2 separate regions of the Homo sapiens genome follow, and region 1 is linked to region 2. The links are contacts of gene promoters, found by promoter capture Hi-C in human tissues and cell types (Jung and others, 2019). All regions are on one chromosome and are shown on one strand. The core of a region is centred on a gene start or on the middle of the fragment in contact, and the rest is flanking DNA. Distances in the headings are between cores, read along the strand shown. Region 1 has its middle 11 kb from the start of TFAP4. Region 2 holds the start of ADCY9 (adenylate cyclase 9).

What was found. Contacts are between HindIII fragments. The study calls those that stand out against the background at their distance.
Region 1: a contact is called between a fragment that was not itself captured here and the fragment with the promoter of ADCY9 in region 2, in 1 of the 25 tissues and cell types used here (IMR-90 fibroblasts).

Annotation. Positions count from the first base shown.
Region 1 is chr16:4,283,143-4,285,842 of GRCh38, forward strand. No RefSeq gene overlaps it. Among named protein-coding and RNA genes, the nearest start is that of TFAP4, 11 kb to the left of the region's middle. The HindIII fragment of the contact is 7,021 bases long and covers 1-2,700 here.
Region 2 is chr16:4,115,058-4,117,757 of GRCh38, forward strand. ADCY9 (adenylate cyclase 9) reads right to left here and starts at 1,385. Exons shown (of 11, transcript NM_001116.4): 1 at 633-1,385; 2 at 1-428. The coding sequence starts at 385. RefSeq lists a silencer at 1,523-1,592. The HindIII fragment of the contact is 7,185 bases long and covers 1-2,700 here.

The sequences.
Region 1 (2,700 bases), core at 175-2,674, 170 kb after region 2:
CAGGCATGAGCCACCGTGCCCGGCCTCCACCAGGTCCTTTTTTTGAGACAGAGCTCTGCTCTTATTGCCCAGGCTGGAGTGCAACGGCACAATCTCAGCTCACCGCAACCTCTGCCTCCTGGGTTCAAGTGATTCTCCTACCTCAGCCTCCCAAGTAGCTGGGATTACAGGTGCCCACCACCATGCCCAGCTAATTTTGTATTTTTAGTAGAGATGGGGTATCTTCATGTTGGTCAGCCTGGCCTCGAACTCCAGACCTCAGGTGATCCGCCCGCCTTGGCCTCCCAAAGTGCTGGGATTACACGCATGAGCCATCGCGCCCAGCCTGCCACTGCTCTTATTTTTAAGTGCCTGATCCATACCCTCAAGTGGGTCTGGGGGTTGCTGTGACTGCATCCTGTTGCCCTGGCCCCTTCTTCCTACCCTTCCTTCTCCTCTCCCCTCAAGCCCTCTAGCACCTCCTCCTTGCTTGTAGCTCACTTCCCGTTCCTCTGAGGGAAATGGAAGCAATTAGAAGAGACCTTCCACAGGCTGCCATGCCCGCCACTGCCTCCCTCTCTGTGCCTGGGAACTGCCATCGGCCAGTGTCTCTGGATGAGCATCCATGCTGTTCATGCACAGAAGACCCTTCTACTTGCACAACTCAGAGCCGTCACTCCAGAAACTGTCCTCTCTCCTTTGTCTTCAGTGCACACCGTCTTTTGGATCATACCCATTACTAACAAGCTGTTACTATTCTCCTTTCAAACCAACGGACTGACCCTAGATCCCCTTAGCTCTGCTCTCTTTTCTTGGTTTTGAGACAGTCTCACTCTGTCACCCAAGCTGGAGTGCAGTGGCATGATCTCCACTCACTTCAACCTCCACCTCCCAGGTTCAAGCCATTCTCTTGCCTCAGCCTCCTTTGTAGCTGGGACTACAGGTATGTGCCACCACGCCCAGCCCAGCTCTGGAATCTAACAGCAAAACTCCTTGAAATGGATGTTCACACTCACTCTCTCCCCTTCCCTCCTGCTCACTCCATCACACCCCCATGACTGCATGGGGGCAGTGACTCACTTCTGTAATCCTAGCACTTTGGGAGGTCAAAGCAGGAGGCAGGAGGATGGCTTGAGCCCAGGAGTTCCAGACCAGCCGGGCAACATAGCAAGACTTCATCTTTATAAATAATTAAAATATTAGCCAGGTGTGGTGATGCACATCTTTGGTCCCAGCTACTACTCTGGAGGCTGAGGAGGGAGGATCACTTGATTCTAAGAGGTTGAGGCTGCTTTGAGCCAAGAGTGCACCACTGCACTCCAGCCTAGACCGCAGAGTGAGACCCTGTCTCCAAAATAAAACACATATGGCTGGGCGCGGTGGCTCATGCCTGTAGTCCCAGCACTTTGGGAGGCCAAGGCAGGTGGATCACGAGGTCAGGAGTTCAAAACCAGCCTGGCCAAGATGGTGAAACCCCCATCTCTGCTAAAACTACAAAAATTAGCCAGGCGCAAGGGCAGGCACCTGTAATCCCAGCTACTCAGGAGGCTGAGGCAGGAGAATCGCTTGAACCTGGGCAACAGATCGCACCTGAGCCGAGATCGCACCACTGCACTCCAGCCTGGGCAACTGTGAGACTGTCTCAAAAATAAATAAATAAATAATAAAACACACACACACACACACACACACACACACACACACACACACACAAACCCTTCTCTTTTCAAAGTCACGAGGACCTCCAGGATGCTACATCTGGGTCTCTGTTTTCTGCCTTCACTGCATCTGACCTTCTTGAAATTCTTTTTTTGCTTTGCGTCTAGGACATGCCCACGGCACAGCCCTCAGACCTGTCTCTGTCTACACACACTCCCTGCTCTTCAGACAACAGACTTCCAGAAACCACTAGCAGCCACGAAGTGTGGTACAGAATCCAGGTCCTGCCTGAACCCCAACCCTACTAACCTGACTCTGCTCTCTCATCTGCAAAATGAAAGCCACACAGCATCTCCCTGGCAGGGCTGTTGTGAAAAGCTGGTGACAGCCTGGCATGTCACGGCATCAATGAGTGTTGGTTGCTGTCATCCCTGGCACCAAGTTGCCATGGGCGGCAGTGGCCAGAGGCGTCTGAGCTGACCTTGGAGAACGACAAGATTTCCTGATATGTAGGGAAGGTCGGAGGTGGGGCTCAGCCTTTCCCCTTCCCAGCTCTACGTGGCAGCAGGTGGGAGGCAGCAGGCATGCGCTGGGCTTTGCTGTTCACACAGGGTGCACCTGCTTCCCACTCGAAACACCCTCATGTGGTGGGGCAGTGAAAATTGGCAAACAAACCACTTGCCCTGTAAAAGGTGGGTCTCTTGGCCGGTCACAGTGGCTTATGTCTGAAGTCCTGGCTACTCAGGAGGCTGAGGCGGGAGGATTGCTTGAGCCTAGGAGTTAAGGCTGCAGTGAGTCGTGATCATGCCACTGCACTTCAACCTGAGCAACAGAGCAAGACCATGTCTCAAATAAATAAATAAATAAATAAATACAAATAAAAGGTGGGTCTCTGTAAAAAAAGAAAGTAATCAGCAGAGTGTGGTGGCACACATCTGTAATTTCAGCTACTCCAGAGGCTGAGACAGAAAAATCCCCCAAGTCCAGGATTGCAAAGGCAGCCTGGGCAACAGAGTGAAATACTTCAAAACAAAATAAAATAAAATAATTAAAAAAAAAAAA
Region 2 (2,700 bases), core at 135-2,634:
GAAGGCAGGCGAAGCCGATGTAGAAGAGCGCATACCGGAACCGGCGCTGGGTCTGCGGGAAGCAGCGCTCCAGGCAGGCCTCCTCCAGGTTCACCGAGTCGAACTTGGGGTCCCACCAGCGGCTGGAGGCCCTCTCGAACAGCTGGGGCAGCTTCTTCTGCCTGCGCAGCCGGCCTCCGCCGCCCACTCGCCGGGGGACGCCCCCGGAGTCCCCAGAGCTGCTGCAGCTAGAGGAGATGCTGTATTTGCAGTGCTTGGGGTGGCTGTTGGAGGACAGCTGCTTGGGGTTGATCTTGACGCGCACGCTGTTGCTGTCCCCGCTGGAGTCGCAGCTCACCTCGGTGCTGTGGTGATGCAGCAGCTGCTGGTGGGGTGGGGAAGCCATGTTGTCGAGTCCCGGGGCCTGCCCCGGCCGGGGTCACCAGTACCTGCCAGCAAAACGGGGAGAGTTAGCGGCGCTCCCACCTAGGCATGCACGCCTAGAGGCCCGGGACCTGCTCCTGTCCTAAGGGGCGGCTCCAGCACGCGACCTGGACAGGCACCATCTGTTCCTGTGGTTCCCGGCTCAGCGGTGCTCCCACCGCCCCCACCGCCCCCACCTTCGAGGCGCACGAGAACCGCTCGGGACGGACCTAGAACGCCCGGGGGTCCCCGCCGCGTGGCCGCCGTGGCTCCGGGACCGCTTTGCTCGCTCGCCTTCCGCGCCTCTCGCCCCGAGGGTGGCCTCCGCGCCGCGCGGCTTCTCCTCCTCGCGCGCTCGCCTCCTCCAGCTGCGGCTCCGGAGGGAAGTTCAGACCTTGAGCGCTCCCAGCCCCGCGAGCCGCCTGCGCACAAACAACTCCGCTGGCGGCGCGGAGCCCTCCATCCTGCAGGAGCCGCGCTCCGATGCGTCAAAGGCGGCGCGCGGCCGGCCCCGGGCCCGGACCCCGACCCGGAGCAGCGAGCTTCGGCGGGCGCCCCCGGCTCGCGCTCCCCGGCCGCCCCCCGCGCTCCGGGCCGGCCCTGCCCGCGGCGGCGGGCGCTGGGGGTGGGGGCGCCCCGGGCTGCGAGTGCGCGGAGCCCGTCGGCGCGGCCCGTCTAGTGGGGCCTGCTTCCCCCCGAGTGCGCCGCCGCTCCCGCCGCGGCCGCAGCTGTCCCGGGACCGAGCGCGTGGAACCACGGACGCGGGCCCCTCGCCGGGCGGCGGTGCAGACGCTGCCGCAGAGCCGGGCTCCCGCGACGCCGGCCGGGACGCCCGCCCGCCCGCGCCCACGCCGGGGGCCGCCTCCCCGAGCTAGAGATGCGGCCGCCGCCGCGCCCGCCGCCGTGTCCCCCGCGGCCGCTGCCTCATGTCGGAAGAGCTGCCGCCGCCACCATCTCCGGCCCCTGCCCCGCCCGCTGTCACTGACAGACGCGCGCCCGCGCCGCCCCTCGCCCAGCCGCAGCGCGCACGCGCGGCCCGCGCTCGCCGCCACCGCCTCCTGGCCCCGGACACGCGCACGGGCCGCGCGCCGCCCCGCCTTGGTGCGCGCGCTGGGCTGGGGCTGCGGGGCGGGGCGGGGCGGGGCGGGGCGCGCGCTCGGCTCCGCCCCCCGCCCCGGGCGGCGCCGCTTCTAGGCGGCGGGCTGTGGCCGCTGTCCGCGCTCCGGGCGCTGTGGGCCCGCCCTCCCTCGGCGTCCCAGAGGCCGCGCGCCGCCCGGGGTCCCGACCCTGCGGAGAGACCTGAAGGCGCCTGCCGTGGAAGAAGCCGCTGGCCGCAACGTTTGGGAAATCAAAATGTTGCCTTCCCACTCGGCACGCCTTTGGGATAAATCGAAGTTTCCAACCGTTGGATTTCCCTCCCGGGAGGCTCCCCTTGCTCTGTAAGCAATGAATGCGGGCCCCGGGGCACTCGGCCTGCCCTGGACCTGCTCACGGGGCGACCTTCACGGGCCTAGCCTCCAAAGCTGGGCCCACCGACGACCACGTTCCCCCGCCCCAGGGGTAGTTTACCTTGCTGTCCTTGAGCCCTTCTCCCCCTCCTCATGAACTACTGCTTTTCCTTTTACACAAATGAGACTTTCAAAGGAGTCCGCGTCCCATAATGGCAGTTGTGCATTGGCCTCCATAAACATTGCCACGTGTAAATAAAATCCTATTCTCTCTAGCATGCAGATCCCGACCCCTTCTCCCCACACTCCACAGTGCCTCCTGCCAGTCACGGGGCTCTCTTCCATCCCCTCCCTCGCCTCCCAGGCCCAGCGCCGGGGCCCACACCAGGTCTCACTGTTGAATTAGAAAATAAAAGTAAAATGTGATCTGTCCATGCAATGGAATATTATTCGGCTACAAAAAGGAATGGAGCACCGATGCATGCTGCAGTGTGGAGGAACCCGGGAAACGTTATGCTAGTGAAAGAAGCCAAACAAAAAAGGCCACATAGCGTATGATTCCATCCAGATGAAATGTCTCGAATTGGCAAATCCGTAGAGGCGACACAGATTGGAGGTTGCCAGGTGCTAGGGGAGGAAGATAAGCAGCTTGGGGTTTCGTTTTAGGATGATGAAAAAGTCTAGAAATGATCCAACAGGATGAATCTACATACTGCCCTTGAATCATACACTTTAAAGTGGTTTAGGCCGGGAGCGGTGGCTCACGCCTGTAATCCCAGCACTTTGGGAGGCCGAGGTGGGCGGATCACCTGAGGTCGGGAGTTCGAGACCAGCCTGACCAACACGGAGA